3 separate regions of the Homo sapiens genome follow, and regions 1 and 3 are each linked to region 2. The links are contacts of gene promoters, found by promoter capture Hi-C in human tissues and cell types (Jung and others, 2019). All regions are on one chromosome and are shown on one strand. Each heading gives the region's core, a stretch centred on a gene start or on the middle of the fragment in contact. The rest is flanking DNA. Distances are from core to core; before and after follow the strand shown. Region 1 has its middle 51 kb from the start of SLC10A2. Region 2 holds the start of SLC10A2 (solute carrier family 10 member 2). Region 3 has its middle 44 kb from the start of SLC10A2.

What was found. The method cuts DNA at HindIII sites, captures the fragments that hold promoters and counts their contacts. A contact is called where the count stands out against the background at its distance.
Region 1: a fragment that was not itself captured here is called in contact with the fragment with the promoter of SLC10A2 in region 2 in 2 of the 25 tissues and cell types used here (lymphoblastoid cells and mesenchymal stem cells).
Region 3: a contact is called between a fragment that was not itself captured here and the fragment with the promoter of SLC10A2 in region 2, in 1 of the 25 tissues and cell types used here (lymphoblastoid cells).

The regions. Positions count from the first base shown.
Region 1 is chr13:103,014,227-103,016,926 of GRCh38, forward strand. No RefSeq gene overlaps it. Among named protein-coding and RNA genes, the nearest start is that of SLC10A2, 51 kb to the right of the region's middle. The HindIII fragment of the contact is 3,730 bases long and covers 1-2,700 here.
Region 2 is chr13:103,065,025-103,067,724 of GRCh38, forward strand. It overlaps SLC10A2 (solute carrier family 10 member 2), which reads right to left and starts at 1,393. Exons shown (of 6, transcript NM_000452.3): 1 at 849-1,393. The coding sequence starts at 1,225. The HindIII fragment of the contact is 6,207 bases long and covers 199-2,700 here.
Region 3 is chr13:103,108,608-103,111,307 of GRCh38, forward strand. No RefSeq gene overlaps it. Among named protein-coding and RNA genes, the nearest start is that of SLC10A2, 44 kb to the left of the region's middle. The HindIII fragment of the contact is 5,400 bases long and covers 1-2,700 here.

The DNA.
Region 1 (2,700 bases), core at 134-2,633, 51 kb before region 2:
TTTATCTCTAGCCTATACTCATATCTAATGGATGCCTCCACTTGAATATCCCATAGAAAACCTGAATCTGTTCAGCTCAAACTCAACCAATAAAATCAGTCTCCCTCAAACATATTTTAGTAAATGGAATCCTCACTGCCTCACTCTCTGAAGCCAGACATTTGGAAATCACCCTTGATTTCTCACCATTTCAGTCTTGGTTCACATTCTCTCCGCTCCTGGATTAGTTCTTGCCTAAATTCATCCTGTATTTCTGCCTCAGTGATTTTTGTAATATTCAAATTACATTACATGATTTCTTTGTCCAACATGTGACGATGATTCTGCTTTACCTAAGGATAAAGTCCGTATTTCTTGGTAGGACATATTAGACCCCCCACGGTTGGACTGGCACCTCCTCTCCTATCATTGTTTCCTGACACCTGTATGTGCAACAAATGCCCCATCCACGGCAAATGAGCCCCAGTTCTCCAAACTCGGCATGTTCTCTCTCACTTATGAACTGTTTAACATTTTTCCTGCTCTTCCTCACTTAAATGCTCTTATCCCTTTTACAACCATGTCAGACTTTTTCTCCACTTCAAAATTCACTTCAGGATGTATTTCCTGGGGAAGCTTTTCTAGATCCCCACATGGCTGGAATTTCTGTTTTTCTACAGCACTTTTGAAACACTCCTTTTAAAGCATTCGTCTCACCATCCTGTAGGGGCTTATTAATTTTTCCCTCTTCCTTGCTAGACATTAAGTGGGCTCCTTGACAGCAAGGGATCTTCTTTCATTCATTCACCGCTAGCCCCAAGCATATTACCTGGCACATAGTAGGAGTTAAAGAAAGCTTTTTAAAAAAGTGAATGCATTCTATAAAATCCAAGCAATATGCCACATGCACTGTTGTTTTGCCACTGTGTCATTATAAATTTTTTTTTGTGATAAGGTTTTTTACCCAACTATATTGAAAGTCTGGGTGAGAAATAACTACAGATCGTGATTCTTCATATCTGCTTGTGTAGTAATGTGAATTCTTCAGAGAAACAGAGTCAATAGGAGACATATATATATATCTATATATACATATGAAGAAATGTATTGTGAGAATTGTCTCACATGATAATGGAGACCAGGAAGTCCCACCATCTGCCACCTGCAAGGTGGAGAACCAGAAAAACTGGTGGTGTAATTTAGCCTAAGTCTGAGTGTGAAGACCTGAGAACCAGGGGGCCTGATGGTGAAAGTCCCAGTCTGAGTCCCAAGGCCCAATAACCAGGAGTGCCGATGTCTGAGGGAAGGAGAAGATGGATGTCCCAGCTCAGAGAGTGAATTTGACCCTTTTCCACATTTTTCATCTATTCAGGCCCTCAATGGATTGGATGGTGCCAACCCACATGGGTGAGAGTGGATCTTCCTTAGTCTACTAATTCAAATGCTAATCTCTTCTGGAAACACCCTCACAGACACACCCAGACATCATGTTTTACCAGCTGCCTCGGCATCCCTTAGCCTAGTCATGTTGACACATAAAATTAACCATCATATCTTGTTATAAGCAAAGTAGGCCCTCAATTTTTCTTTTCGACAAATGAATGAATGTTAGATGACTGAGAAGGAAGCAAATAGACACAATTATGAGCTTGTGGAAGCCTCCATGGGCCATTGTCCATTTTCCCTCCCATTGCCATTGCAAATGAGGCTGCCTTAGAAGGAATTTTGCCACTATTTATTTTCTGGCTTATCTGCTGATGCTGCAGTAGTAGATGCAATAGGAGAGGGAGCATTGGAGAGGCTAATGAGGAGGACGACGACAAATTTAGGAGAAGGAGAAGCAAAAGTATAGGCTAGGAGAGGCTCTGGTTAATCCAGCATTGATTAACCATCAGAGCAATATCATCAACCACTGGAGCAATATCATTTCAACAGGGGGAGCTGAGTGTAGAGGAGGGGAGATGGATATTTGTGAGGTTTGTCAGTCGGGTTTATGAGGCTTGGTTTGAGCTAGTTGTGGAGAGGAGTGTGATGGTGAGAAAAAATGCAGCCTGTTGGCAGGACCCCTGCAGGAAGCTGCTGGAGCCATTTCCCAGAGCACAGATAACACTGACAAGTCACACGGCAGGAACTGTTTTCATAGATCTTTTCAAACACAATTAAGTGGATCTAAAATAGAATTTTAAGCTCCCACAACACCTTGACATCAGAAAACCATGAATAAATAAAATTACAAATCAAAATGCAATTCAAAGGGATTCCATGTGATAATGCCTTTTTCAATAAATGCTGCAGAAAAATATTGTGTGATAAAACCGTATCATTTCAATTTTCTCCTCGGGGATTTTATATCCGTATGCTTTTATGTATAAAAATGTGATTTTGAAAAAAGCCCTGCCACGGAGACTCCTGGGTCCCCAGTAGGTGTTCACAGTAGGAGCAGGCATGGAGGGGCTGGCGGCATCTGTGCCAGGCGGACTGCATTTCCTTATGACATTTTGTGGGGCAGGGAAAACTCTGCCATTCACCTCCTTCAAGGGACTGCCATTTGTATAAGATTCTCCCTCCAGGGATTGTTCCCTTGGGTTAGGGTATATTTCTAGGAAGTTCAAGTTAAATTACAAGTACATTAGCAAGGACGAGCAGCACATTAATCCAATTACAGGCATAAAGACCTTAATGCAAATTTTTCTAAAATGCATTTTACAGAATATTATTTCT
Region 2 (2,700 bases), core at 143-2,642:
GCACCTGGATGGTTTGCAGAAGGAAATGCATACCTTTCAAGGGAAATGAGGAATTGTGAGCTAAGGAAAAAGACATTTGTCTATTCAACTTTTAGCATTAAATTTCTCAATCTAGTCACATTAATGCTTCATCTTATTTCTATTAGTTTTTTTTTCCAGTGCTAGTTCAGACTGGCACGGGATGAAATGGGCAAACATTGCAATTTAGATTACTCTGTAGGAAGTGGAGAAAACGTTTTCTGTTTATTTTGTAGTAAGGTAAGCATAATTTTAAAAAAGCTGCTATAGGCTTTTTCCCCCACTTTTAATGCCAGTAGAGGTGAAGCAAATTTACAAATTCTTCCTTAGGTTTTATACCAGGAAAATGTTTGCCCAAAGAACTGGCTATATTTGATGGAGTTGACCACTGTCTCACTACAGGTTCTAATGTTTGACAAACAGTTTTATTTTATGATTGCACCCAGAGCTCCTCATCATTACAAAGAAAGTGTATTTTGCTTTTTTTTTCCTGCTACCAACAGGATAAACCTCCTCAGCTGCAGCTTGTGGTTTGGAAAAGATTACTTTTTTAAAAAAGCTTTGAATCTTTTCCTAGAGATCAACAGCAATTATGCAACTCCCTGTTAACTGAGTTAGATTTAAAAACACAAACACAAAATATAAATCCCCCAATTCCAATAGCTAAGCAGCTGTGCTAGAAGGCACGGGAATGCATTTATTCTCTCCTGTTTGATTCCTTAGTCATACTTTAGATGCGTGGCAAATCAGTTGGACATTCAGAATGCCATAGGCTTCTGGAAGGATTACTCCAAGGTGATTGCAGTAGTTAGAGGTATAGATAATCTTACCTCAGGTCCATGTCGCCATCGACCCAATAGGCCAAGATATTGGAGGCAGTTCCTCCAGGGCAGCATCCTATAATGAGCACCACTACGGCCTGGAGCGGGAGGATGTCAAAGGCCACCGACAGGATGAATCCTGTGAGGGGCATGATTCCAAACTGACAGAGGAAGCCAACACAAATGCCCCACGGCCGCTTTATGTGCCCTAGAAATTTCTTGATTTCCACGTTGCATCCCATGGAGAACATCACCAAGGCCAACAGGATGGTCAGCACCGTACTTAGGACCACACTTAGGATGTTATTGAAATTGCTCTCAGGTACCACACAGGATGCACCAGAGCAAACTGTTGCATTGTCCACACAGCTGTTCGGATCATTCATTGCTGGGTCTGCTGCTGGAAAGGCCAAGTCCACAGAAGCGCTGGTCCCTGGGCCCTGGCTCTGCTGCTGGTTGAGTTAAGCAACGTTTACTTCTACCCCATCAAACTTTTAAACCCCTCCTAAAAATATGTCACTTGGTGTCTCTTTTGAAAGCCACCTTAGGGAAGTAATAAAAAACAATAAAGCTAGGATGTCAGTTTCAAGAGGTAGCATTACAACACAGAGCACGTTGTGAATCACAAAAGTCCAGCAAAATTATTGGTCAAGACAGAGAGTTACGATTAATCATTTATTGGCATGATAATGAACCATGCCATATAAAAAGAGCCACGTTAATGTTTAATGTCCTCGAGGGTTTGTTGGATAATTTCAGTTAAGTGACTTTTAAAATCAACTCTGAATAGTACAGAATCTTATAGGGATTGAGCCATAGGAACCATGCCATATAAAAAGAGCTGTGTTAATGTTTCATGCCATGAAGGTTTGTTGGATAATTTCAGTTAAGTGACACTTAAAATCAACTCTGAATAGTACAGAATCTTATAGGGACTGAGCCATAGGAACACATATTGTTCTCCCATTTCCCTTTCAATAGAAGGGTTTAGGGCCCTGAATAGTTGAGTGCCCTGTGCCTAATTATGTTGCAAATCAGGTGTCAGACTCTGAACTGGGACCCAGATCTCCATCCAATTTCCACTCCCAGTAGTTTTGCTACTGTATCAGTGTTTCCTGGAATTGCTTTGTAGTGTCCATAAAGTATATGGAAATTTAAGAAACTTCTAGGGTCTTGGTGCAAATCTGAGAGAGTAACATTTGGGAAGATAGAATGTTTTCTGTGTTTCCTGGTGGAAAGGAGTCTGACTTGCACAGCCACCCTCAACTACTTACACATGCAATTATGTGTGCGTTGTCATAGTAACAGAGTACTTTATAGATGGAGACAATACAATTATTTAGAGGGATGAACCTCAGAGAATTAGGTCAAAGTGACAGGATCTCTTTGTGCTTGGAGTCATAAATTGAAATTCGATTTTTTTTTTTTTGGCAGGGGGATTCCAAGAGAGATTTTTGTAAATGTCAAATAGTCGACCTCATGCTGGGCAGAACGCTGTATTTCAGTATACAGGGAAGATAAAGAAAGAGGTAGAGAAGAGATTGTCCTGTTTTCAGGAGTTTATAACCCAGTTATTGAGTTAGGACACAGAGTAATAATAAAATTGAATATTCCGATCATGATTCACAATTTGTAGGACAAATTCTAATTTATTATTCAACTTAATCATCTTAAATTAAGTAGGATTAGCACTCCCATTTTACAGATGACGACTTAAGGGTTGAGGAAATTGAGTGCTTTAGATAAGGTTAAAGGGAAATGAGAGAACAACGTGTTTTCCTATGGCTGGTATCTGGAAATACTGGAACCGAGCGTTCTGATTATGTGAAGAAAGTGGTCGGTTTGGCTTGCTGGGGATTGG
Region 3 (2,700 bases), core at 196-2,695, 44 kb after region 2:
AATCTCATGCTGGCTTTGCTGGTCTGCCCTGAATCAGCAGTGATGAGGCAGTAGTCAGGTCTGGGGTCAGACTTGGTGATGGCCTTGATCAGGGTTCAGAACACCACGAGTCTACGAGGGGTGAAGGATATTCTCCTGGGATCGAAAGGGAAAGATTCCTTAAGTCCCCTCCTGGGTGAATTGCATCTGAAAGCTTTGCTGGCAGCTTCTCTGCACTGAAGCTCTGGTAAATGTCTGGGTTATCTCAGTAAAAATAACTCTTGGGCTAAGGGGAAATGTTCTTTTTTGTACTTTCCACACAGCAGCCTGACATTGCTTGCAGTGTCTTTGTTGGACATCACTGGGCTTAGCCGCACCCTTGATCCACTCTGGCCAGTCCATACGGAAGTCAAATGCTCCCCGCTGCAAGCAATAAATACAACATAGCCCAGAGGAAATTTATTTATTCCAGCAGCCAGGTGTTTGGGCCTCAGTACCTCTTCATGAGTCAGAAAAAAAAAATAGTAGTTTTCTATTTGTCTCCCTCCAACTAATCTGAAATTCTTCAGGCATTATATATAACAGCTGAGTCTTAACGCTTCCTTTCAAACTTTAATCAGCGACATGAGGCACATGTGCTTGTCTCCTGTGTGTTCCTCATCATTTTTAAGTGCCAGTTTGTAGGTTTAATATCATCTAAAATGTCAGGACTCTGGCATGGTTCTAATCTGAGTCCCTTTCTATCTTTCCTCCATTGTTTATGGAAATGATATGAATGCGCCTCCACTCAGTAAGGATTTGCTGAGCATTTTGCCACATTTGTCTTAAGTTCTGAGCTCATCTGGCTCCTTAAAGATGTTTGATTTTGTGTAATCTCAAGGGAGATTATGTTATTACGAAGAGGCATAGAAAACAAAACCGACTTCAGAATGGGTCGTAGACGTGCTGAGGTTCTAAGCAGGTGGACATCTGTGGTTGGCTCCTGTGAGCGGACCTTGGATGAGCAGAAACTGTTCTCTTGTACGAGTTTTCCAGGCTTTCCAATTCCTCAGCATCGTGGAGTCATGAGGTGTTATTATACTGTCATTAATGAGTGACTTGGCTTATTGAATATTATAGTTTGCATGTAAGGTGGCTTAGTCAAATAGCAGTTCATTTCCCTTAAAGCATGAAGTATGGTATGGTCTAGTGGTTCTGTGACATCCCTGAGTCCCAGTCTCCTCCTGCTGTTCTGTTCCCCCGTCCTGACCTTATGGCTTTTGTCGTCTCATTTACCACCTCATGGCTGCAAGAAGGAGGCTTCAGCTTTCTCCCCCTCACCTGGTCCAGAAGTATCTCAGGACCCTGCTCTCCCTCACCCCACCCTCATTCTTGCAAGGGAGGCAGTGAATCTGAGTATTTCTGGCAAAACTTATTGATGCCCTGGGCAACACTGGGATTCTTTAGTAACAAATAGGGGGAGTATTTGGTGTACAGTCCACCCAAGATACATATCTTAATTCTCTTCTGAGTCTAATAATCACTTTTTGTTTCATCTGGTCCTGCCTCCGGGCAGTATCGGCGTTGTAGTTTCTGTTAAACGCTTCCCTGTGCTCTCAGTGTTTTCCCAATTAATCTTCTGCCATTGCTCACTCAGGGTCCTTGACACGTTGCACATAACTAGGTACAGAAACCTCAAGTATCTTGACTGCTCTTTGAGGCTGTTAGACCCCCCTGACTACTTCCATGGTTCTTCATTCTGGCAACCGAGACTCCCTTCAGACCTGCCTCATATCCATGAGTCCCCTAGTTTTATAGTCTGTTTCCTTACTGATTCTTGGTGTCTGCATTTTTGTGGGTTTTTACCCCCTTAGAACCTCTCAGCACATCTACAACCCATTCTGAAATCGGTTTTGTTTTCTGGACCACTGGAAAAGCTATACACCCTGTGACCAATGCCTGTTAGAAGTCTCCAAAGCTTTAAGCAGTGGTTCTCACTGGAGGTCACAAAAGGCAGTACTCATGCCAGGTGCTTTCTGTGTTAAGTGCATAAACCCTGAATGCACTCTAACCACATTCCCTTCACTTCATATATCTGAATTGTCAGGGGGACCCAGGAGAGGCTCAAATTGAGGATTTTCCCTCTAGACATTGCTGTTATTCTGGTATGACCTGTGGTGAGGGGAGGATTGATGCCATTACTTGGACAGGAAATCTAAATTAGTAATTTTCTTTCCAAGTAGGATGACTGCTGGGTAGAAACTTAAGATTCTGGAGGTAGAAAGAAATCTAGACAACATTGGTCAAATGCCTGTGTTTCATGGGCAAGACACCTTGCTTCAGAGAGATGGAATTATTAGAAGTCATATGTGTCAGTAGGGGTGGGTCCAGACTTAGGAGCCAAGGTTTTACATGCTTGGCTATAGGGTTTTCCCCTCATATTTTTTTTTGGAGAAAGATTTTATCCTTCTACACCTGCCCCTTTCACCTAGGAAGGTTGGAATCACCAAGAAGACTGACTAGCGGTAAGAGCAGTGGGTGGCTCGAGATACTCAGCCACCTGGTATCCACAGATATGATTGAAACAGCCTTTATGAAGACACTAAAGGGTCTCAGCTAAATCTTCTTACATGTTCTGCCTTGGCCTCCCCTCCTTCTGTACTTAAAAAGTATTTTGTCACTACACATTATATCATTGCAGTTGCTTTATATAATTAACCTGGAAGAAAAAAAAAGGTGTCT